Regions from separate parts of the Homo sapiens genome. Here regions 1, 2, 3, 4, 5 and 7 are each linked to region 6. Evidence: promoter capture Hi-C in 16 types of primary human blood cells and fetal thymus (Javierre and others, 2016). All regions are on one chromosome and are shown on one strand. The core of a region is centred on a gene start or on the middle of the fragment in contact, and the rest is flanking DNA. Distances in the headings are between cores, read along the strand shown.

Region 1 (3,375 bases), core at 695-3,194, 830 kb after region 6:
GAATGCTCCACCAGGACAAGCAAAATGCAAGAGGTTGGATTTTAAGAGCCTAAGCTAAGTTTCTTAACACTCTTAATAATTATAATCAGTTGCTACAGCTAATTAGACTCAAAAATAGTCTAAACCAGAATCTTTTCAAAACAGAATCTTTTCAAAAACAGAAACACACAAAAATCTGAGACTATCTTATTTGAAATGACTATAAATGGTATTTTCACATGATTCTAAAACTAACAGAAATCCATTTTTTCTTCTAATACTACATTTCAATCTTATTTACTGATTTTGGTATTTGCTTTGGTAGAAAACACTGCTAGTTTTGTTCCCTACGCTTGACCTACTGTAATTTTTTAAATAACAACAAAAAAACCTTCACACAAGCAAAATGGAAAGTAGTGTTCTAAGTACATAAAAATTAAATAGTAACAATTTAACCAAGGTCACTAGAACCTTTTCGGTTTGTTCTCCACTTAAAAGCAGAGCATTTAAAAAAAAAAAGAAAAGGAAAAAAAAAGAAAAGAAAAGAAAAGAAAAAATGTGTATGTGTGCCTGTGTTTGGGATGGGACAGTCTCTTCTAGACTTCCTATTGAGGTACTTACAGTGCTGATCACAATCAACTCTGGCAAACACTACTTGATTTTCATTTGGAAATTCTTCCTTAATGACATCGGAAGCTTCCTCAAAAATTGGATGCAACATCTGACTGAAACGACACCTATACACAGAGAAGGATGCCAATTAGAAATGAAAAGCAGAAGTAATAAAATCTTATTTCCGTTATTGCCCACTGACATTTGATATAGGCATAATAAACGACTCTGCGAGATAATCACACACTTAATTTAATCATGGACCCTGACATCGTTCAATGGAGATGAAGACAATTTTAAGTTCAAAGACTGTATACCAATTCTAAGAATGTATAATAGATTTTGGTTTTATTCATCTTAAGACAATTGCCAGTATTATGGAGCACACAGCTAAGGATCTCTTGCAGAGGTCATAAAACAAGTCTGAAATAAGCCCTCTACAAAGTACTGTTAGGATTTGTAACTACTGAGGCTTGAACATTTATGAAAAATTAGCTTTCTCTATTTTATTTATTTTTAATTTTTTTTGAGACAGGGTCTCATTCTGTTGCCCAAGTTGGAGGGCAGGGGCACAATCTGAGCTCACTGCACCCTCCACCTCCAGGGCTCAAGCAATCCTCCCACCTCAAAATAATAAAATTTTAGACTATTGTGTAAAATATTTTAACTGTATTGCAAATATTAGACCTCTCCACCTGGCTAGTTCTATCAAATCTCACAGGCAAGTTAACACACTAAATAAATAAGTTATATTAAAAGAATATATGGTATATAATTAACTATTTCCCCTCAAAATTTACCCCTTGATAAAATGGGCTTTTATATCTGTAAACATACTAAATACAGTAAGTCCAGAAGCAAATATCTTAAATTCCTAACCAAGACTTCCTGTCTATATTTTCTTTTTTCTTTTACTTTAAACACAAGGCACAAACCCCCACAATATTCTACAAACTTGTTACTTCTAACTGTCCCTTAATCAAGCCAAACATTTCACAAATACAGTCATGTGGTGTTTAACGACAGGGATACACTCAGAAATACACCATTAGGCGATTTCTTCATTACGTGAACATCATAAAGTATACTTACACAAACCTAGATGGTATAGCCTAGCATGCACCTACACTATAGGGTATACAGCCTCCTACTGCTCCTAGGCTACAAACCTGTACCACATGTTAATATACTAAATACTGTAGGCAACTGTAACACAATAGCAGGTATCTAAACACAGAAAAGTTACAGTAAAAATACGGTATTATATATGGGACTTCTGTCATTGACCTAAACATCATGTCATGGATGACTATGTTCTAGGTAATTAAAGGGACCCAATAAGAAGGGGAAGAATCAGAATTAGCAACCAGCTGGGTTAGAATGGCCATTCTCTTACGGAAGAAGTATTAAGAATATGTAAACAAACTACAATTGCTACTGTTGCTTCCAGAGCCCTTTTCCACCAAATTTACTTAAATGATGTCAGTGAACAGTTTAATCCACATGTAATTAGTTCATACATATTAGCTTTAATACAATAAAAATATTGGAAAGCCTGTGAAAGGATGCAAACATTATACTTCCTCCCTATTTCTTCTTGTATATATATATCTCTTCTAGCCCACTCACCTGACTTCCTAAGGAGATGTCCTAGAATATATCAAGGAGACACATCTGTATCTTCAATCTCTTGCTTTCAAGTGGCTCTTTCCTCTTTTAGCATTCTTAAATCTCTCCCATCAGGGATAAGAGGATGGGGTCTGTGGACATCATGGACCGTGTCTTATTTGACTATGTATTCTAATAAACATTCAATATATGTATTAAATCAATAAATTGATAGAATGGAGGAACTGGAGCGGCTAGGACCGCAGGTTTGTGGGTTCTTACAGTTCGCTGAAAATAAGGTAGCTGGAGGGCAAGGGAGGCAAGGAGTAGGGGCTGATTAATGGTTTCTTGAAAAATTTAGATCTGACCTAGTGAAGAAAGAGCGGGCAAGCCTCTTTATGGCTTAAGGGCGACGTAAAAAAACACATCAAGGGCTTCTTTTCTCTAGATTGTCCAGTTTGCCACTCATTAAGTATTTAAGCATGGTTCATGTTTAAAATAGGACCTGTCTTAATACAGGTTGAATGCCCCTAATCTAAAAATTCAAAATGCTTCAAAATCTAAAACTGTTTGAGCACTGACAAGATGCTCAAAGGAAATGCACATTGAAGCATTTTGGATTTCGTATTTTTGGGGTTAGGGATGTTGAACCAGTAAGTATAAGGCAAACATTACCAAATCTGAAAAAATCCAAAAACTGAAACACTTCTGGTCTCAAGTATTTCAGATAAGGGATACTCAACCTGTACCAAAAGACGAAAAGGGAAAATGAAATAAAAGTTCAATTCCATAATTACTGTACCTTCATACATGTGTATCCATACACATGGAAATGTTACATTTATAAAAGGAACATCACAAAAGCAATGGATCTATTAAAAGGGCCTAAGGGTCATCTAAACCTAATCTTCCATCTAGTGCTTAAATCAATCCTTAACAAATCTACCAAATAGATAAGTCTTTGCAGAGACATTTTGAGGGCACTTACTAATATGATCTAGTTAGAGAAAAAAATAAGCTTTGCAGTTAGGCATACCTGAATTTAAATCCCAGTTCCACCACTTACTAGCCATATGACCCTTCTGAGCCTCAATTCCTCAACCTAAAAGGAAATTATAATACCTACCTACAGAGTAGTTCTGAGCATTAAAAAAAACCTATGTAAAGAGTCTGGAT
Region 2 (3,743 bases), core at 326-2,825, 790 kb after region 6:
ATAACATAATCATTATTTCTCATTAGTTTTTATAACAATCCCATTAGGTAGGTGGTATCATTAACCATTTTTTATATACGAAGAAACAAGAACAGAGGAGGTAAGTGACTTTCCCAAGGCTGGACTCAAATCTAGGCTTCCTAGGTAATTTTAGGATTGGGAATCTTCTACCAAACAACCACATCTCCACTGAAATATTTAGAACTCAGTGGGGTAATTCATTCTGCCATAGGACTACAAATCATCCTCTGTGTAATTTAATCTTTTGAGATAAAAATGGCATTTAAATGAATTTTCAAAATAAAATGTCTAACTTGAATACCTGTATTGCTTAAACTTTTCGTATAAGAAACATCTACATTTTTAACCACTGTATTTAACACCTCACAAAGCTGATAAAAATTCAGTATCTGTAGTAGCTACAAGGCTTGTACATATATTAATACTATAAATATCTGAGAATTGAGTCAGAAAGCTTACCTATTCTTGGAACAGTTCATAGCTATATGCCATTAGAAACGCCTAGTAATAGCAAGATTCATAAATACTACTAATGTTCTTGCTATGTGAAGTCACGAATGAACAGCAATATTACCAATTTCCTTTACCCTGGCCTAAGGTTATAAGCTATTTTTCTCAATGTGCTTGGTAAAGACCAAACTCAATGAAGAGCTAATTTCTCACAAGACAAAAATTTTCTTTGAGAGATTGATTCCCAAGCATTAATCACTAATCATCCAAGCATTCATTATCAATTCTAATCACTTAATGTTGGTATTTCTACAAGGCTATATCATAATGTTCATAATTATACCACACTCTATAGTGAAAAAAAGCAGCAGTCACCCAAACCTCTCCCATCCAGTTAACAAAGTCTTACTGTTCCAACATAGGATTATTTAAAATATTCAAACAACTATTTTCAGTTCATTTTTGAAAAACATATCAGTAATTTTTAAAAAACAAAATGAATACTCACAATACATCTTTGAAGTCTCCAAACACATACATATGCCTAAAGCTGTCAATAGCGATTACAGGACAATCTGCTGGAGTTTTCTGTATGTGCAGAAGAGGATGTCTAAATTTGTCACAATCGGCATGTAAAAAGTTTATTGTACCTTTAAGAAAAAAGAATTTTGAGAGGTAAATTCAAATTTTCTTGAAAATATTTTTGTAAGATTGCAAGCTCACAAAAAGTGACATACTAAAAAAAAAGCACCCAACATTCTTAAGAGTAATATAGATCAGAAAAACTAAAACCTAAATATCTAACACTTAAAATAGGTAGGCTTTTAGTTCTTAGGGCACAGAGTATAACTTCTTTAGAAATCATATTGACTTAGTGCAAATTTGAAGGCTATAATGAATTTTTTACTTTCCTTAAATGGGCAATCATTTACTTTGCAGATTATCAGGTTCTAGGCAGGAAGTTCAAGTTGATATATGAGCCATTCTCATGGGACCATTTTCATTCCAGCCTATTCCAGTCATACTGGTTGATTTTTAGTCGAATTCAACCTGCAAGATAGTATGTGACTAAAATGGGCAGCTCTATAGAGTACCTTTAGTTTATTTTGTTTGACTTTCTTCCCTAACTACAGAGGAAAAGCTGGTGACACCTCAAATTCCATTAAATGCTTTGGAGAAATCCACAGACAACTACTCAACTTTCTTTCATTTAGAAATAAATGTTAATCAGACTGTGTAAGCTCTCTCAGCAACATCTCTGGGAATGTCCATTGGAAAAGGGGTCACACAAGCAATGAAGGCAAGTGCCCAGAACTAATGCTCATTCATGACCCTGCTTTTCATGCACTTTGATTTTTCTCTCCAAAATAGTAATGGTTAGAAAACAAACAAACAAAAAAACACTACCTCATATTATCTCTCTACTAATGCCTCCTTACCATCACATTTGAATGTGTTAAAATAAGTTTTTAACCCAAATATGTTTATGTGATTTGACAGAAATGGGAGAGGAGATGATGAAAGGGAAAAAAAGAAAAGAGAGAAAGAAATGATGAAAATAAACACCTTAATCTGTCTACCTTTTTCACTTATTAATTGCCGAGCTACTTCATTCTGGAATATTTCTAAACTTTCTGTATCTTCTTTCATGTGAAAGAGTATGAGAAAAGGCAGTCCTTCTTCTGTCAATTCCTGTAGAGAGAAGCATTCAATGAGAATTATCAGGCTTCTCCATTCAGTTGTAGCTATTTTCTAGGTAGGAACAATTTTGAACCCAACCCATGTAATGCAATAGTTGCAATATCCCGGGGGAAAAAAAAGGCCCAGTGGTGTGAATAAACATTAGCCTGAACAGAAGACTGAATTCACTCCCCTCCCCACCTCAAGTACCCAGACAGTCAGAGGACCCACATGCCCTGCTTTGCTGCAGAAACTGATCTGCCCCCACTGTCTGTTAGCCAGTATGGGATATGAGACTTCAGGGTTAGGCTGTTGAATTCATGACATATAGAGGTGAACTATGCTGGTTCTTTACCAAGGTGTTAATTTTAGAGTGGGGTAAACATGACTAGTATTTTCAGTCTTCACAAGTAACAGTGAAAAACAGTATATCAGCAATAAATAAATCTGATTTGCAAAATTTTTTGTATTTTTTTATATTCTAAGGTTGCAAAAACCATTACACTTACATATAAAACTTACCCAAAGCTTGAAGTGTTTTATCCAGGGTAAAAAACAAAACCTCCATTATTTAACTAATTCTCAACCAATATACAATTAACATTATTAATAAATACCTACCCCTATATATTTTTATATACCTCTTTATTTATACACACAGAAAAGCACCTTGAAAATTATAAAGTGCTATTAAAATTTTTATTGTTGTAATTGGAGAATACTACAATGGGTAGACATGATTAAATAAAATGTGATATGTAGACAGATTTAATCATTTATTCTCCCCAACAAATGCTAAGTTCTGACTCATCAGAAAAAGTCCAGAAAGGGTCTCATAACAAAATTATTTTCATCAACTATCCTTTTGAGGATCTCTCCATAAATCTAGGAACTACCTCACCAGAAAGTACAAATGTCCTTTATTTTTTAAAAAACAAACTGGGACCTATTTTACAGGATTAAAAGTTTTCTTCTGGCTCTCATCTCCATATTTAAGCCTATTTCACTTGTATATAAGATCAATTATTAAGCCTCTTGTTACATTTATTTTTTTAAAAAACTGAGATACAATTAGCATACCATAAATTTCACCATTGTTTTTTTGGAGACAGGGTCTCACTGTGTCGCCCAGGCTGGAGTACAGCCTCGACCTCCCCAGGCTCAGGTGATCCTCTCACCTCAGCCTCCCAAATAGTGAGGACTACAAACATGCATGACCATGCCCAGCTCATTTTTGTTATTTTTTGTAGAGATGGGATTTCGCCATGTTGCTCAGGTTGGTCCCAAACTCCTGGGCTCAAGCAATCTGCCTGCCTCAGCCTCCCAAAGTGCTGGAATTACAGGTATGAGGCAACACACCCAGCCCATCATTTTTAAGTGTACAATTTTGTGGTTTTAATTATATTCACAAGGTTGTGCAAACATCACCACTAATTCTAGAGCTTTTTTTTTGAGACGGAGTCTCACTCTGTAGCCCAAGCTGGAGTGCACTAGTGCAATCTTGGCTCACTGGAACCTCTGCCTCCCGTGTTCAAACGATTCTCCTGTCTCAGCCTCCTGAGTAGCTGGGACAACAAGTGCACATCACCATG
Region 3 (3,796 bases), core at 639-3,138, 870 kb after region 6:
TCCATTTGAGTAGCTGTTTTCTAAGAAATTATTTTGACTAGCAAAAAAAGAAAAAAAAAGTAGCTATTCTTTATTCTCAGCCCTTTCAGAGGTAAAATCATTACAGAAGTGTAAGCTTATCACTGGCTAGCTGACATTTTACTGTACTTGGGCCAGAACTCCAGTAATAAGTCAAAGGAACTGAGGATGTGCAGGTTTCTTCTCTCAAGGTAACGCCAAATGACAATACATTATCTTACACTTGCAGCTGTTCTATAAGCAAAGAGATAGACTTCAATGATGTGTTGGTAATTTTTAAAAGCTGGCATTTCCCCCTACATTATTTAAAACTTCAAATACAACAAAACAGGCCTGGCACAGTGGCTCACGGCTGTAATCCTAACACTTTGGGAGGCTGAGGTAGGTGGATCACCTGAGGTCAGGAGTTTGAGACCAGTCTGGCCAACATGGTGAAACCCCGTCTCTACTAAAAACACAAAAATTAGCCGGGCATGGTGGCAGGCACCTGTAATCCCAGCTACCTGGGAGGCTGAGGCAGGAGAATCACTAGAACCCAGGAGGTGGAGGCTGCAGTGAGCCGAGATCACGCCATTGCATTCCAGCCTGGGCAACGGAGTGAGACTCTGTTTCAAAAAAAAAAAAATATACAACAAAACAGCTAAAGAGCAGGCTTGTAAATATGAGTGCGTACTGTCTATAGGACAAGAAATTTTAACTCTAACATTTTATTTTGTAGATGCATTCATAATCTATATTCCTAATGACCTCTTTTTTATTTTTAAAAATTTATTTTTCCCAGAAGGATGTCAAACATGACCTAACAACCTTTTTCTAAAATTTCTTAAATCCATTCACCAAAGGTCCCACTACTAGACTATAATAAGGAAGAAATGGAAAAAGTACTGGTATTCTACTATTCAGCCTATGGTTTTCTTTAGCTCAAATACTACTACAATGTTTTTCTGAGATGGGTTTCTTCTGCTTTTTTGTTGCTTTTCTCTACTATATTAGCAATGTTCGTGTCTACAAATTCAGGTGACTTAAAATTAGAGTCCAATATAATGCTCAAAGTTCTACATAATGATGAAATCTCAGGTTTGTAGGAATTGCAGAGATGAATGTGGTGACCACAATATCACCAAGGATTCCCAAAGCAGTTAGAATTCGATTTCAGTCTTTGCAAGGACAGAACCAAGACCCACAGCATTACAGAAGGGACTTCTCCAAAGTGGCATTTTATTCCTCTCCCCTCTTGAATGGACTAATCTGAAGGCTAGTTAGAACCCACTAAAGATCATGATTTTTATTTTTGCTAAGTTGATAACAAACTGTTTTAATGAAGTTGGCCAAAGGGTTTGCCAGCTTCTTTAGGGCCAATTCTGACATTTGGCCACGTCAGCCAACCAGACAACAAGATTTCTTAAAAATAAAACAATAAAAAACAAGTATTCAATTGATAGAAAAGATTTACTATGTTATTGAGAGGCACTGCCCTTTTTCTTCATTCCATTCAGGACTGAAAATAAGTTGATCCATTTAACTATTCAAGGCAATATTCAAATTCATCTTTTTCCAAGACTACTCTGATTCCTCCACTGAGAAATAATTTGTTTCTTCCAAACATCCATGGCAGTATTTCTCGAACTTTTATGTGCATATGAATCATCTGGGTATAAGTTCTTAAAGTGCAGGTTCTGATTCAGTAGGTCTGAGGTGAGGTGATCTAAAAGGTCTCATATGATGCTGATGCCTGGGCTCACAATCACACTTCTGAGTAGCAGGATCTATAACCCACTTCTACAAACACCTTTGGCATCCATTACTTTCCTTTTGGTAGTCTAATTATTTATATATATATCTTCTCTCCTCATCTGAATTACTAATTTCTTGAAGGCATGATATGCATCTCAATGATCTTTTTCTCCTCCATAGTAGATTGCAAATAGACTTTCAAATGATAGGCAGAAAAGAAAAATAATAACAAAGATACAGATTAAGTTTCTGCAGCCTGGGCCATAGATGAGTTCCTCTCTATGGAATCAAAGTTAGGCTAAAAATCAATAAATGTTGCAAAAACTCAAACTGTTTTTAATCTTCTTGGTTAGAAGAAATAGAGTACAGCAAGAGTCAATATCAGATAAGCTGTGACAAAAGCATGCTAAGCATGCCCCATACACATGTGCAACATGCTGACAAGCTAGCAGATTTTTAAAGGAACTACCCAATCAAATAATAAGTCTATAATCAGTAGGAGCTAAAGGAATACCCTTTTGTAGTCTATCTTGAAAATAAGATAGACTACACAAAGAATCATTGAATCATCAAATCCATGTGCTTACGTTATAGACAAGAAAAACAAGTAATTTAACCAAGGTTATGATGGTTAAGTAAATGGAAGAGTCGGAACTTACATAGATGCCATGACATCTACTTTTGCATTACACTGCCTTTTGAATGGAGACTAATGAAGAGGCAAAAGAATAATACCTTCCACTGTTCATAAACTCTATCTTGTGAGTACATTCATTCTGAATTACTGGAAGAAGAGTAAGCCATTTTTTGAAAAGAAGACACATAACAAGAACCCATAATACAAACATGCACACAAGAAAACAAATTATCAATAAATATGAAAAAAATTCAACTTTGGTTGTAATCAAAGAAATGTAAATTTAAATTGTGATACCATTTTTGGTCTAGTAAATTGGCACAGATTACAAAAACACTCACTACTGATGAGAGTGTGAGGAAGTGGGCATAGTCACACACTGTTAGGAATACACATTGGTACAAATTTTCAGTAGGGCAATTTAGTACAACATATCAGAAATTCTAAATATAAGACACACCATATAACCCAAAAAATATAATTCTAGAAAAGTAACCTGAGAATGTATCTGAACATTTGCAGAGAACATCATTGTATGCATACCTTTTGTACATTTTTTATAACTGTGAAAAACTTGAAATAACCAGTAACCAAAATGTCTTAACAAATAATGAAGTAAGCTACAGTGCATTTAAAGGTTGAGCTTCTATAATGCTATTAAAAATCACAGTATACAGTTTAGAAAAAGTTTTCAATAACTGTAAGCAATTAAACATCTCCAAGGGTTTTTACAAATTTTAACCTATCAGACATATGACTGAATTCACATATGGCTGTATATTCCAGTGCTTCTCAACCCTGTGAGCATCATCACAGAATCAACTAAGGATATAAAGGGTTAAGAACTCTGTGTGGGCTGGGCACAGTGGCTCAGGCCTATAATACCAGAACTTTGGGAGGCCAAAGCGGGTGGATCGCTTGAGCCCAGGAGTTCGAGACCAGCCTGGGCAACATGGCAAAAGCCTATCTCTACTAAAAATACAAAAATTAGCTGGGTGTGGTGGCTTGTGCCTGTAGTCCCAGCTACTTGGGAGGCTAAGGTGGGAGCATCACGTGACCTGGGAGGTTGAGGCTACAGTGAGCCAAGATCAGGCCACTGCACTCCAGCCTGGGCTACACAGCAAGACCCTGTCTGTGGGGGGGGAAAAAAAAAGAACTGTGTGTGTCTGTGTCTATATAGTCTAGAAATAGAAGACCAACAATTCTACAGAAAACCAGGCTAGACAGGAAGACAGTTCACACAAAAAGAAATGCAAATGACTTTTACACCTAAGAAGCTTGATCACACTCATATTAAAGACAGGCAAATTAAAATACATTGAGATACCATTTCTCACCCATCAGACTGACAAATACCCAATAATTTGACATTATACCTTTTTAATCAAGGCTACAGGGAAACTATTA
Region 4 (3,478 bases), core at 366-2,865, 810 kb after region 6:
TCTCCAGAGGACATCTGCTGAGTGCTGGGGTGATATACAAACCTGGGGAGTTGGGTCACAAAGACGAAAAATCTCCTATGGCCTCCTGGTACTTAGGAGACAACGTCTACTTTGGAAAGGACCTGCAACCCTGTATCAAGACCACATGCAGCCAAGACATTTGCCAGATTTTGAAGCCACAAAGATTAGGAAGCATCTAGACATTAAAAGAAAAACACGAATTTTTAAGACAGACAGGAAGAAAGGTACTTGTGACATGTACTAGAGACAACTGATTAATATTCAGAATATAAAAAGAATGAACTAAAAAAAGACTACCAAAAAGATAAGTGAGTTAAAGCTATCAGTTTATGAAAGAAACACAGATTGCCAATAAACTATTACATATGTTCAGTTGTAATCAGAAAGTTACAAATTAAAACTCCCAGATAACATTTTGTCTTTCATACTGGCAAAAAATCAGTAATAATAAAAATGTTTTAAACTAAAATTCAATAATATGAAACCCTGTGAAAGTAAAATATTCCTAGTAGGTTTCATTTAGGTCCAATATTCAATGTTAATAAAGGTAAACTAGCCTAGCTGGTGCCTACTTTGTCAACAAGAAGTCAAGTAATCTTTTTTAATACCCTAAGACTTTTTAATACCCAAAGGATCTGGCAGAGAGGATATGAGATGGACTCAGAAGCAAAGAAACTAGTCTAATACAAAACATATATTTTCCACCTGTGTCCTAAGTATCAGTATGAAAATGGACAGCAAGATGCACTATAGGAGACAATATAATGCTTTCAACTTTCTAAACTTGATGAATTAGGGGGCGCAATGAGAAAGTAGTGTGCTAACAGCAAGTATGCATAAACCAGGAGTAGAATAAATAAGGTTAGAGACGGACTCTAGAGGGTCTTAAGCACTAAGCTGATGGAGTTTGAATTTTATCCAGTGTTGTGATAAGCAGCCACTGAGCTGTAGAGCTGGGCTTTCAAAAAATTCACCTGGAAGTAGTAGAGAACCAGGGAGACTAGTACTGTAATAGTTGTGGCAAAAATCACAAGAGTCTATTAACAAACATTACAATCTTTAGGTTGCTTTAAAATTCTGGTTACAGAGAGAAAAAGATTTAAAATATTTGAAAACTATTATGGGATTAGATATTCATTTGCTTCATTCTCAAACAACATCCTGGCAGCAGGTATGCTGCATAATGCAGTGGCGTTTAATTATTAAGAAGCAAAAACCTTAAAATTACATTGATCAGTAATCTCAGACATAATGCTTTTTTTTTTATTTTACAAGCTTTGGCCAAAAGTGATTTTAAGATAATTAGAATGTGACACTTTGACAATATAACAAAAAATGACTTAAGGGGTATAATAAATGGGTTTTTAAAATTAACTGGATAGATCAAATGTTAAAATGGATGTCAGAGGAATTATAAATCCCAGAAGGTTAACAGCTCACTGATTGGAAAATTAGCATATATTTTTGCTCCAATGGTCACTTACTTTTCCTTGATGGGTCCTGCCTGCCTGCCTCACTAATACCCAGCAGGGTTCCAAATGGGGAAATTGCCTCATACTCGTTTCAGCAACGTCTCTCCCTGCAATGGTTATCCATGGCAGAAAATACAAAGAGGCAGATCATTTCAACAGGAAAGTCTTATTGTTCTTCTGGTTCCAGGAGAAGGACCACTGCTGCCTATGTACTTCTTCCCATTCCCAAACTGCACCCCTCAAAACAAACAAAAAAACCCCAAAAAGACAAACATCCCCAAAAAACAAAACAAAATACCTCAACAGAAAACTAATAAGCAAAGCCTAGAAGTTCACTCAGAACTCAGGCTTAACTGCTCATCCAAATTCTGTTCTATGCACATAAAGTCTTCACTTCATATTTTCTTGTTCTTACTATGATATTTATATATAGTTCCTATAAAAAGCTTCTCAATTTCCAATAAGTAAGGTTCGAGTTGCACTGGAAGACAGGTAAGAGTAACTCAGGTATATGGGTGCATGTGCTACCTAATCAAGGACAATTACAAAGTACTTTCCTAAAAACACAAGTGTGGGTCTGTTCTGCACTGACCAGCAAGCATATGAATGCCTCTTGCTTAGTGCCATACAGCCTAAGGCCACTGGAGGTCAGCAGAGAACCTGGTCCCACCAGGGGCTGACTGATGGGACTTTCTAGATTCAAGGCAGCAAGCATGACCACCAAGGAGAATAATGAATTACGCTCCTGAATTCCCCAAATGATAAGACTGCAGAAGATAAGATGTGAAGCAAGTTGAAGCAAGGCCATGTTTTAATTGTGTGCATATGTACATGCATGTGTACATGTGTGTCTATGTGTGTTTCGAAATTTTGGAAAGCAGACAGTTACAAAGAAGAAAACAAGAACCACTTCCAACCACCACTGGAGAAAACCACTATTAACATTTTGGCTTATATTTTGGTAACTTTGAAGAAAAGTTGCTTAACTAGCAGAGATATATTTCAATTCAGAAAAAATAAACTCTGAGGTTAGTCAAATAGTAAAGTGATAGCATCAATACTTGCAGAATGGGTTTTAGCAGCTTGGAAGAAATTCCTAGAGAGAGTAGAGCATTACCAATACTCTTAATGGCATGGAGGCCAATACTGTGTAAAAAAACAAAAACAAAAACAAAAAACTCGACTCAGTTGAGAAATGATGCACAAGAGTCAGACTCTAGTTTCAGAATAACTTGAACAAATTTATTTTCCTTTTAAGGCACACACAATAATGACAGAATTTTTAAAATCTATTTCTGAGTCTAAAATAGTTTTCACAATAGGTATAAAAAAATTCTAAGTGTCCCTATCTCTCACCATAAACAAAAATCAACTCAAGATGGATTAAAGACATAAATCTAAGACCCGAAACTATAAAACCAGTAGAAGAAAACATAGGGGAAATGCTTTAGCACATTGGTCTGTGCAAAGATTTTTATGGATACTGCTTTAAATGCACAGGCAAAAAAAAAAGCAAAAATAGACAAATGGGATTTTATCAAACTAAAAAGCTTCTGTAGGGCAAGGGAAACACTCAACAGAGTGAAGAGGCAACCTGAGAATTAGTGGAAATATCTGTAAACTAATCATCTGATAAGGGATTAACATCCAGAATATACAAGCAACAACAACGACAACAAAATCCTATTTTAAAAAGGACATGGCATCTCAACAAACATTTCTCAAAAGACATACAAATGGCCAAAAAGCATGTGAAAAAAAATTGTCAGTTTCACTAATCATGTGGTTACATACAAATCGAAACCACAATGAGATATCATTTCACCCCAGTTAGAATGGCTATTAACAAAAATGTGAAAATAATTAATACTGCAGAGGATTTGGAGAAAGGGAAACATTCACATGTTGTTGATGAGACAGTAACGTAGCACAGCCACTATGGAAGACAAAATGGAGGTTCCTCAAAACCTAAAAATAGAACTACC
Region 5 (3,815 bases), core at 999-3,498, 850 kb after region 6:
CAAAGTCATTATATATTCTCTAAAGAAGATAACTGCTGGGCATTAAACCATGAGATTACTTGTATGTCAGTACTCTGTTTTTGCCTGGGTTTTCATGAAGCTTTGAATTAATTTTAGTGCAGAATGAATGTATCCACACTGTTACTGAACAATCTTTTAACATCACTAAAAGTGGAACAACCAAGTATTCTGCTTCTTGATGGGATGCAATACGAAACAGAAAGCACCACTTGTAAATATTCTTAACAACAACCAATTTGAACATGATCTCAATTTAATCAAGCCCAAGAAACTAGTGTATAAGAAACATTGGCTATAGAGGAACATCTTGTAAAATGACACCATGAGGATGCAAGCTGCCATATCGGATGACAGGAAATTTTACAGAAAACAATGATAGCCTATCTTCATTTGGCCTCCCCCCAGAAGTAGACTCTGAGACAAGGAGTTAAGCACAAGGAGTCAAGTATTTGGGAGATAAAGGAGGAACAGAGAAGTGAGACAGGGACAGAAACTCAGAAACTCAGGCAATATACTATAGCAGGTGAGCTATAGTATTGGTATACTAAACTTTGGAAATACCAATGTTTTCACTTGACTTTTACACAATTTTTCAAAGTTTATACTCAACAGATTGTAGTATCTCCTAAATTATATAAGGTTTTTTTTTTTTTTTTTTTGAGACAAGGTCTTGTTCTGTCACCTAGGCTGGAGTGCAGTGGCATGATCTCGGCTCACTGCGACCTCCACCTCCTGGGCTCTAGCAATCCTCCCACCTCAGCCTCCCAAGTAGCTGGGACTACAGGCATGTGCCACCACATCCAGCAAACATATAACATTCTTTAGCCCTTTTACTAGCTGTTGCTATTGGCACACACATTTCTACACTCCAAAGTATGAGGAAAATATCTCCTATGTGTCAAAGAATGCCTTTATTTCATTACTAAACATGTGGCCCTGACTGTTTTTGGGTGAGTAAATGGCCTTTAAGGAAAAACTGTCTTCAGTGAAACCTTGGCTTACTTATTTTCCACAGTCACTTAGTTCCAGAATCACTCTCAGACTTCCTAGTTTCTTATTCTTAAGTAGAGTACTGTACGTATTCTTGGGTAAAAATGTTTTTATTACCAAATCCCCTAATGATTCCATTACTATATATATCCAAAGTATTAATCCACTACTGACTTTAAAGATCTGTATTTTTTGGCCAGGCACAGTAGCTCACGCCTGTAATCCCAGCACTTTGGGAGGCTGAGGCAGGGGGATCACATGAGGTCAGGAGTTTGAGAGCAACCTGGCCAACATGGTGAAACCCTGTCTCTACTAAAAATACAAAAAATTAGCTGGGCGTGGTTGCGGATGCCTGTAATCCCAGCTACTTGGGATGCTGAAGCAGGAGAATCACTTTAACCCGGGAGGTGGAAGTTGCTGTGAGCTGAGATCACGCCATTGCACTCTAGCCTGGGCAACAAGAGTGAAACTCTGTCTCCAGAAAAAAAATAAACCTCTGTGTTTTAAAAATTACATTGTTACTTCTAACCAAATTAATTCTAAATATCAATCAGAAGTAGTCCTTGAGAGGCCATATACTTCTTGAGGTGCCTATCCTAATTAATGATCATTAGAAGAATCTTTAATGCTGTCCCATCTGCCACACATACTGTTTGAATTAGCTTTGTAAAGCAAACAGATTTATCTTTCATTTAGTCTAAAATACTCCCAGTGACAGTCTCAAAGCTTTCTTATATATTAAGGGTCACTAAGGTTGATCTTCATTACTACCACATAGTAGTTCAGCTTTCTAAGCACTTTTACCAAAAAGCTAATCAGAGAATGACCTTGGTGTGTTAAAAGGAAATCTGAATTTAGGAATCTATCTCCTTTGCTCATGTCTGTCCTCACTTTTGTACTTGCTGTGAGATGGAGGTACAGAAAGAAGAAGTAAGCATTGGCACAATTAGGAATATACTGTTTACTTTAATCCTCAAAACCATTTGGGAGGTAGAGAGAAAAGACCAACAAGCAGGGACAAAGGAAGAGAACTCATTTTTCTAAAAAACAGAACTAAAAAACAAAAAAGTTCTCTAACTCTCTCTTTTCTTCTTTTGAGATAGAGTTTTGCTCTTGTTGTCCAAGCTGGAGTGCAATGGAGCGATCTTGGCTCACTGCAACCTTCGCCTCCCTGGTTCAAGCGATTCTCCTGCCTCAGCCTCCTGAGTAGCTGGGATTACAAGTGTGCGCCACCACGTCTGGCTAATTTTTTGTTTTTAGTAGAGACGAGGTTTCACCATGTTGGCCAGGCTGGTCTCAAACTCCTGACCTCAGGTGATCTGCCCACTCTGCCTCTCGAAGTGCTGGGATTACAAAAAGTTCTCTAACTCTCTATCTTCTGGAGTTTTGAGGCAGTCAATCAACCTTAGAGGTAAGAAGGGCAATCTTCCAAGTCCCTGAGTCATCCACAACCTTCAAACGTTGAATCCTTCTGAATTTTAGATTTTTATAACATGTATTAATTAAAATAATGAGGTATAGGATGTCCTTAATTTCCTAATGTTTGAACTTCATGCTGACTCTTCAAAATTGCCCACTGAATATATGCTGCCTTTGGGCTTTAATGAAGCAGTTGACAAACATTTCAAGCAATTTTAAGTGGTGATTTGGATCTGGTAACAGTTCATTTCAGTCAAGAGGCAGATGATTTAAAAATAAGTACCCTGTAACAAACTCAAAACTTCCCAAGTACGGTTTCAAAGAGAGTATAAGCTTACATAATTCAAATTAAGAATTTCACATTCTATAGCCAAAGAGAATTTTAAAAGTAATGCATGATCAAGTTTTTTTTAAAAAAACTAAACAATTGGTCATTGTTTTCTTCTGAATATGAACTCTCATAAAAGCTTGCTTTTATAACTGTTACATAGAATTAGTTGAGATTATGATTAAACTACAATTGACCTTCTGCAGTCTATGAGTTGGGAGTCAAGAGACCTAGGTTTTGGTACCAGCTCTACCACTCACAATGTAACCTTAGGCATGCATTTCTCTACCTCCTGACCTCAGAGTTCTATTTGTCCATAAATAAGCTGAACTAATAATCTAAGGCTGCTTTTGATTCTGATGTTCTAAGATTCAGCAGAGATGTGGAGACGCCTTCTTTCAGTGGAATTTGTCTTCCATTGAAGATAAACATTAAAATCATTACTGGACTAAAAACTGTTTCACAAGAAATCATTCTCACATTTTTGACAAATACACAGCAACAGAAATTTTCAATTACATTCTACATAGGTGAGACTACATATACTAACCTCTAAGAAGTTAATATCCAAATGTGTGTTATCATCTAACAGCAGAGGCTTTTCAAACTTTTTATGACCATGATCCACAGCAAGAAATACACTTTACACTGCAGTCCAGGAAACAGAAACACAAATAAAAGTTTCTCAAAACTACCTATCCTTACTACATTCAATGCACAGTAGTATTTTCTATTCCTATCCTTTTAATTAATGTTGAATGTAAGCCCAATACAACAAATTAATGTATCCCAGTTTGCAGTTCCAAAAATACTGCTCTAAAGACTATTATACACTTATTCAAACAATACTGCTCAAAATATTTTGGAGAGAAAATCTCCTTTGGAAATCCCTTAAAAAGCCATGATCCATGCTTTTCAACACACTCCATCATTACAAAGCTAAGACTTTTGGGGATTAATCTTTCTGAAAAGGTAAATTTCGCTAGAGCCAAATGTCCAAAGTGGGTTATCACAGGAGTCCCCAAACCCAAGGCTACAGACCAGTACTAGTCCGCAG
Region 6 (3,524 bases), core at 126-2,625:
AGGCGGAGGTTGCAGTGAGCCGAGATCGCGCCACTGCACTCCAGCCTGGGAGACAGAGCAAGACTCCGTTTCAAAATAAATAAATAAATAAATAAATTTTTGCTGAAAAAGATGCCTAATAGTAGGTATGTCATAATACCAATTATGTACCAATAAGAAGATATAGATATACCTATGAAAAGACACAGGCTGGTGTCACCACAACTTCTGAAAAAATACAAGAGAAACTTAACGGTGGCTATCTTCAGGGAGTAGAATAGGACGGGGCTTTTAGGTTACATCCTTCTATACTACTAAATTTTTAATCGAGTAAATGTTACTTTTTAAAGTCATCTTTTTTAGGATGGGGAAAAATGCACGAAGGAAAGAGTCAAGAATAGCTACAGGGCAGATCCAGGTGGACATTATTTACCAAGGTAAAAAGCTTGAACTTTTCTCCAAAAACCAATGGGGAGCCATGTACAAGTTTTAATAGGGGCATGATATATTCAGCTTGGCGTTTTTAACACATGACACTGCTGAGGACGGTGTGGCCTGGCTCCGAACACAAGGACAGTGGGATGCAAATGGCCTGAAAGGAGAGTCAACAAAAATAACAGGTAAGCGGGAAGACAACACGCGAGTTACTCATTAGTAAAAGGTGACTGAAGCTGACTTCTAATACCAGCGTTTCTCAGAGCCCCAAAGACTATCTACCTCGGAATCACCCTATGACCCAGTTAAAATGCAGATGTCTGGGCCCCACCTCAGGGCACCTGGATGAAAACTTCCTGGAGGATGGAACCCCAGCAATCTGCAACTTTAAATGGGCCCACACTAAAGTTAGAGAACCACAGGCTCGCTCACAACCCTGACTTCTCCATGTCAGTTCCGATCTTTGCGAACCGCAGACAGGGAAGGTCTTCTCTCAGGGGTCATGCCCGCGGCCGCCCTCCACGGCGAGGTCCGCACTCGCGCAGCCGGCCCCGCGGCCGCCTCACCTGGTCGCACACTACCACGTCGAACTCCTCGTCGGCGAGGAACAGCACGTAGAGCGCCAGGAAAACCATGCGCACGTAGGCGCAGACGGCGGCGCCGCGGCCGCCCCAGCCCAGGCCTCGCGGCAGCCAGTCCCCGGCACAGCGCACCGGTAGCTCGCGGCTCTCGGCGAAACAGTGGCCCGGGTCGTAGTGCGCTGTCCAGATCTTCACGCTACACCCGCGCGCCTGCAGCGCCAGCGCCGCGTCCAACACCAGCCGCTCAGCGCCGCCCACGCCCAGGTCTGGGTGGAGGAACAGCACCGACGGCTTGGGAACCGAGTCCCGTTCCCGGCCCTGCTCCTCCGCCATGGCCCTGGAGCCGCAACTGCACCCCGCACCCTGATGGGGGTCTTCTGCGCAAGCTCCGCGCTCGTAGCTCCCAGCTGGCCACTGCGGGCCGACCCCGCCCTGCCGTACGTGCGTCAGTTAGGCCACATCAGCGCAAATCTGTGAGGGTCTAGTAACTGCCTGAGAAAATATCTTGTCTGACCCCGGTTATATTTTTCCTTCGGTAGGGATTGGACTTTCTGAAGGACGTTGTGATCCAAAGGAAGGAGGCCGGAGGTCTCTACTTCCCATACAGCAGGTAACTAAGTTGTCTGTAGCAGACTGTCTACAGGCATATCGTGAGACGACCCAGGCGTCCCTGGGGTCAGAGAGGACCTTGCCTGCAAGTCCGGGGGCGGGGCCTGAGTCAGTCTCGCCAGCTGCCGGTCTTTCGGGGGCTCCGTAACTTTCTATCCGTCCGCGTCAGCGCCTTGCCACCCTCATCTCCAATATGGTATGGCGGCCCTTCCATGATCCCCGCCTCTCCCAGAAGCCCTGACTCCTCCTGCTTTGCGCCGTGCTTTTCCTCTGTAGCTCCCTTGCTTCCCCCAGCCTCGGGTGTGGGTGTCTAGGCCGGGGTTCTGGGGCAGGCCTGCCGCGCTCACCCGTCTGTCTGCTTGTCTCCCTCTACAGCCTGGTCCGACCCCCAGTGGCACTAACGTGGGATCCTCAGGGCGCTCTCCCAGCAAAGCAGTGGCCGCCCGGGCGGCGGGATCCACTGTCCGGCAGAGGTAAGGAACCCTGCAGTTCGTTCGCTTCCAGACTCGGAGATAGGACCCAGAACCTCGCTGATTCTGGGGTGGAGACCCTAGCATGTGAAGATTGACAAAGGCAAAATGAGCTTCTAGTGACGTGGCCGTGGGAGTAGTTAAAGGCCTTTTGGGAGGAAGGCGACATTTTTTTTCTCGTTGCTCAGTTTAGGGCACTACTCTTAAAAAAGGAAAGTTAACAAACTGGAATAGAGTCAGAGATAACTTTGAGAAAACCGATGTCATTAAACTGGTGTCTCTGGACCTGAGGTTTGCACTCACATTTCCATCTGGCGGCCCCATAAGCAATCTGTCCTACAGATAACTCGTCCTACACAAAACTTAGTCTCTTTTCAGCTCAGCTCTCTCACTCTCAATTATATCTCCTTACTTCCATATGGCACTGTTGTACACTCATTTACTCAGAGCCAGAAACGTCAGCGTCATCTTGGATTTTTCTTATGCTCTTTCTCTCTCTAGTCATATGCCAGACTTTAAACTCTGCTTGAAAGCTTTCTCATAAGCTCTTTCCTTTTCCCTTTCTACTGCTTTGCATTTGCTACTTAACCCTTTTCTTCAGGCTGTTTGCTTTCCAGTCCATCGTTCGCTCTGCTGTTACTCTTCTGCGTAGTTTCTGTTACTTGTTGCTGAACTAAAAAAAACAAACAAACAAAAAAAAAAAACCGGGGGGATACCAAAGCTCTTAGTGGTCATTTCAGCCTAACCTTTCTTTTTCCTTTTTTTTTTTTTGGGATGGAATCTCACTCTGTCGCCCAGGCTGGAGTGCAGTGGCACGATCTCGGCTCACTACAGCCTTTGCCTCCAGAGTTCAAGCAATTCTCCTGCCTCAGCCTCCTGAGTAGCTGAGACTGCAGGCACGTGCCACCACACCCAGCTAATTTTTTGTATTTTTAGTAGAGACGGGGTTTCACCATGTTAGCCAGGATGGTCTCGATCTCCTGACCTTGTGATCCTCCGTCTCTGCCTCCAAAAGTGCTGGAATTACAGGCGTGAGCCACTGCGCCCGGCCTTCAGCCTAATCTTTCTTTGCTGTCCTATGATCCAGCACTCGTGAACCCATTACTGTTTTCTGAATTCACAAACTTTCTCCCTCATCTCAAGGCAAATTTCTACTTATTTTCCAAGACTAAGCTCAGGGGTTATTTCCTCTTGAGGCCTTCTCTGTCTGTAAGCAGCAGTAGCTACTAGTTTTCCCTTTTGCCCCCATAGCATTTTGTTCATATCATTATAAGACCAGTGATGTTTCCATATTTATCTCCTTCATTAGACTTTAACAGAGAACCTGCTCAAGTCATTTCTATCCCAGGTACCCACCATAAGGCATGACACAATAAATAATGACTGAAGGAAGGAATCAAGCAACCAAGTTGTTTTGGGATTTTTGAAGGAACTAGTGGGGTTTTATCTA
Region 7 (3,679 bases), core at 997-3,496, 900 kb after region 6:
TGGTGAATTGACCCTTTTATTGTTATATAATATCTCTATTTGTTTCTGGTAATTGTCTTTTCTCTAAAGTTTACCTTATTAGATATTAATATACTTAACTCCAGCTTTCATTTCATTAGTATTTATTATAGTTTTGCTAATTCTTTGACTTTTAACCTCCTATGTTATTGTATTTTAAGTGAGTTTCTTTTTTTTTTTTTTTTTTTTTTTTTGAGACAGAGTCTCGCTCTGTTGCCCAGGCTGGAGTGCAGTGGCACGATTTCGGCTTACTGCAAGCTCCGTCTCCCGGGTTCACGCCATTCTCCTGCCTCAGCCTCCAAGGTGGCTGGGACTACAGGCACCTGCCACCACACCCAGCTAATTTTTTCTGTTTTTTAGTAGAGAGGGGGTTTCACCATGTTAGCCAGGATGGTCTCGATCTCCTGACCTCATGATTCGCCCGCCTTGGCCTCCAAAAGTGCTGGGATTACAGGCGTGAGCCACTGCGCCCAGCCTAATCAAGTCTTCTTTTATATCTCAGCCTTTTTATTGATGTATTTACATCATTTACATTTAATGTAATTATGAATGTTAAGATTTAAGATTTCCAATTTATTGTGTAGAACACTGCATGTTCCTTCTATTTTTCATTCCTGTCCTCCTTTCCGTTTCTTGAATATTTTTAGTATTCCATTTTAATTTATATATGGTAGAGCTTTTTGTAATGCTTTATTAAGATATAATTCACATACTATACAATTCAAAATTTAAAGTATACAATTGAGTGATTTTGTGTATTCAGTGTTGGACAAACGTCACCACAAATGATATTAGAACACTTTCATTATCCCACAGAGAAACCCTTCACCCTTTGGCTGTTACTCTTCAAATTTGTGCCCAACCCCCAGTCCTAGGCAACTACTCATCTACTTTCTGTCTCTATAGATATGCCAGTGCCAGATATTTCACATAAATATAATTATATAATATGTGGTATTTTTTGACTGGCTTCTTTTGCTTAGCATAATGTTTTCAAGGTTCATCCATGTTGAGCATATACTAGACCTTCATTCCTTTTGCTGAGTAATATTCCACTGTAGAGCTATACAACATTTTGTTTAACCATTCGTCAGTTGATGAATAGCTTATGGATACTTGCATTATTTCCACCTTTTGGCTCTCATGAATAATACTGCAATGGATATTTGTGTACCAGTTTTTGTGTGGACATATGTCTTCGTTTCTCTTGGGTACATACTTGGGATTGGAATTGCTGGGTCAAATGGTTACTTAATGTTTTGAGGAACTTCCAGAATATTTTCCAAAGTGACTCTACCATTTTAGATTCCCACCAGTAGTATATGAGGATTTTGATTTCTCCATATTCTCATTAATACTTGTTATTATGTATATTTTTTATTATAACCATCCTAGTGTATGTGAAGTGGTATCTTATATTGTGGTTTTTGTTCTGTTACCCAGGCTGGAGTGCAGTGGTGCAATCTCAGCTCACTGCAACCTCCACCTCCTGGGTTTAAGTGATTCTCATGCCTCAGCCTCCCAAGTAGCTGGTATTACAGGCATGTGCCACCACCACACCCGGCTAATTTTTGTATTTTTAGTAGAGACGGGTTTTTGCCATGTTGGCCAGGCTGGTCTTGAACTCTAGGCCTCAAGTGATCCGCCCACCTCAGCCTCCCAAAATGTTGGGATTATAGGCGTGAGCCACCCTGCTGGGTCTATGTTGTGTTTTTAAATAAATCTCTTTGTATAGTTTGTTTTCATTGGAGGTTTTTTATTTGTTTCTGAGTGTGTGTGTGTGTGTGTGTGTGTGTGTGTGTGTGTGTATGATTGTTCTAGGTATTAGAATATGTATACTTATTTTATCACAGTCTGTATTTTCCACTTTGAGTACAACATAGAAGCCTTATCACTAATTAGGTCCCTTTACCCTTCTTTTTGATATAGTTATCTTAAAAATCACCTCTACATAAACTGAGAACCACATCATACAGCAAGGTTATCTTTGCTTTCAATCATCGAAACATAACTCTAAAAATTAAAGAGGATAAGCCAGGCATGCACTGTAGCCCCAGCTACTCAGGAGGCTGAGGCAGGGAGGATTGCTTTAGCCCAGGAGTTCAAGACCAGCCTGGGCAACACAGTGAGACCCTCATTAAAAAAAAAAAAAAAACTAAAGAGGTTAAAAACAGTCTATTATGTTTCTCACATATTTACATTCTGCTTCTCTTTTTTCATTCCTGATGTTCTATTTGTTTCATGAGTGTTCATAGTTGGTTGTTGGAGCACTTTTTTGAGAGTTGTTTTAAAATTCTTGTCATATAATTCTAATATATCTGTGTCATCACAGTGTCAGTGCCTGTTGATTATCTTTTCTTGTTTAAATTAATATTTTCCAAACTTTTGAGTTGTTTCATAATTTTGGATTATATCTTTGACATTTTCTGTATTATGAGACTCTGGATCCTATTTAAATATCTTACTTTAGTAAACGGACAATCTGTCAAGGTTTAGAATGAACATTCTCTTTCAATTTTGTGGTTCAAATTTCAAGTTAGTTTTCAGAGATCTTGCAGGGCTCTTCTGGTTTGCCCCACCTCTGGGCTGCTCAGGCCCATTTAGAACCAAGGCAATGATCTAACTATAGTTCAATTCTCAGAGCTTTTGCTATCTTGATTCTGACCAGTTTCACACATGGGCTGCTCAAAAGTGTCCTGACTTTTTGTACCAATTTAAAGAATTACTTCCTCCAACTTTGTCCTCTCCATATTCCTATCTCCTACTCTCTAATTGGAAAGGGGTAAAATACTACCTCATTGCTATCCTTTGCTTAATTCGGGGCATTGATAGTTTGACAGGGCTCCTCCCAACGGTCTCTATAGTGTCCAGTGGGGAAAAGAGGTGCAGTTTCTTTTATTGTATGTGTTTTGAGTAGAGCATAGTCAAATGGTTCACTCAGCAGAGTTACCTGCCTCCCAGTCTTTTTACTAGAGAGAGTAGACTTCTCTTGAGAACTTTGGCATCTGTGCACCTTGGTGTTTCTGGATTATAGGCTACTGTAGCCCATAATGGGAGGCAAAAGCAAACAAGCAAACAGAAAACGCTTCAGGGAACTTACCACCAGGTTGTCTCTCAAGTTCCAAAGTTCCTAGTCCAAGATGCCTTCCCTTCTCTGCCTGTCATTTATTTTGCCTTTTGCCCTGGGGATTTTAGTTGTAATTAGCAGGAGGATGAGGATGCTATGTACTTGCTCTATCTTGTCATCTTGTCTAGAAAGGGAAATCAACTGTGATTTTTTTTTTTTTTTTTTTTTGAGATGGAGTTTTACTCTCGTTGTCCAGGCTGGAGTGCAATGGCACAATCTTAGTTCACTACAACCTCCGCCTCCTGGGTTTAAGCAATTCTCCTGCCTCAACCTCCCGAGTAGCTGGGATTACAGGCGCCCGCCACCACGCCTGGCTAATTTTTGTATTTTTAGCAGAGACTGGGTTTCACCATGTTGGTCAGGCCGGTCTTGAACTTCTGACCTCAAGTGATCTGCCCACCTTGGCCTCCCAGAGTGCTGGGATTACAGGCGTGAGCCACCGCACCCAGCCTGTAATTCATTTTTGTATCACTCATAAAACATACCACAATGCCTAGTGTACAATTGGCATTAATTAAATATTTGTTTCAAAAG

Evidence for each region. Contacts are between HindIII fragments. The CHiCAGO score rates a contact against its expected background, and 5 or more counts as called.
Region 1: a fragment that was not itself captured here is called in contact with the fragment with the promoter of ALG2 in region 6 in 3 of 17 cell types (M2 macrophages, total B cells and naive B cells); the score reaches 7.8 in M2 macrophages.
Region 2: a fragment that was not itself captured here is called in contact with the fragment with the promoter of ALG2 in region 6 in 11 of 17 cell types (M2 macrophages, M0 macrophages, M1 macrophages and 8 more); the score reaches 20.9 in M2 macrophages.
Region 3: a contact is called between a fragment that was not itself captured here and the fragment with the promoter of ALG2 in region 6, in 6 of 17 cell types (monocytes, fetal thymus, naive CD8 T cells and 3 more). The highest score is 10.5, in monocytes.
Region 4: a fragment that was not itself captured here is called in contact with the fragment with the promoter of ALG2 in region 6 in 7 of 17 cell types (M0 macrophages, M2 macrophages, monocytes and 4 more); the score reaches 11.5 in M0 macrophages.
Region 5: a contact is called between a fragment that was not itself captured here and the fragment with the promoter of ALG2 in region 6, in 2 of 17 cell types (naive B cells and M2 macrophages). The highest score is 5.6, in naive B cells.
Region 7: a contact is called between a fragment that was not itself captured here and the fragment with the promoter of ALG2 in region 6, in 1 of 17 cell types (M2 macrophages). The highest score is 6.7, in M2 macrophages.

Annotation. Positions count from the first base shown.
Region 1 is chr9:100,051,817-100,055,191 of GRCh38, forward strand. It overlaps ERP44 (endoplasmic reticulum protein 44), which reads right to left. Exons shown (of 12, transcript NM_015051.3): 4 at 601-716. Among named protein-coding and RNA genes, the nearest start is that of ERP44, 45 kb to the right of the region's middle. The HindIII fragment of the contact is 2,542 bases long and covers 674-3,215 here.
Region 2 is chr9:100,005,527-100,009,269 of GRCh38, forward strand. ERP44 (endoplasmic reticulum protein 44) reads right to left here. Exons shown (of 12, transcript NM_015051.3): 9 at 2,052-2,163; 10 at 980-1,121. Among named protein-coding and RNA genes, the nearest start is that of ERP44, 92 kb to the right of the region's middle. The HindIII fragment of the contact is 2,204 bases long and covers 474-2,677 here.
Region 3 is chr9:100,090,119-100,093,914 of GRCh38, forward strand. The region is part of intron 1 of ERP44 (endoplasmic reticulum protein 44); the gene reads right to left. Among named protein-coding and RNA genes, the nearest start is that of ERP44, 7.0 kb to the right of the region's middle. The HindIII fragment of the contact is 3,551 bases long and covers 114-3,664 here.
Region 4 is chr9:100,026,164-100,029,641 of GRCh38, forward strand. All of the region lies in intron 4 of ERP44 (endoplasmic reticulum protein 44), which reads right to left. It overlaps LOC105376176 (a long non-coding RNA gene), which reads left to right. Exons shown (of 3, transcript XR_001746547.2): 3 at 1-3,478. Among named protein-coding and RNA genes, the nearest start is that of ERP44, 71 kb to the right of the region's middle. The HindIII fragment of the contact is 643 bases long and covers 1,295-1,937 here.
Region 5 is chr9:100,070,433-100,074,247 of GRCh38, forward strand. The region is part of intron 1 of ERP44 (endoplasmic reticulum protein 44); the gene reads right to left. Among named protein-coding and RNA genes, the nearest start is that of ERP44, 27 kb to the right of the region's middle. The HindIII fragment of the contact is 1,026 bases long and covers 1,736-2,761 here.
Region 6 is chr9:99,220,567-99,224,090 of GRCh38, forward strand. ALG2 (ALG2 alpha-1,3/1,6-mannosyltransferase) reads right to left here and starts at 1,376. Exons shown (of 2, transcript NM_033087.4): 1 at 981-1,376. The coding sequence starts at 1,328. It overlaps SEC61B (SEC61 translocon subunit beta), which reads left to right and starts at 1,716. Exons shown (of 4, transcript NM_006808.3): 1 at 1,716-1,800; 2 at 1,980-2,077. The coding sequence starts at 1,798. RefSeq lists an enhancer at 1,466-1,785. The HindIII fragment of the contact is 2,183 bases long and covers 423-2,605 here.
Region 7 is chr9:100,122,390-100,126,068 of GRCh38, forward strand. The region is part of intron 2 of INVS (inversin); the gene reads left to right. Among named protein-coding and RNA genes, the nearest start is that of INVS, 25 kb to the left of the region's middle. The HindIII fragment of the contact is 5,558 bases long and covers 1-3,679 here.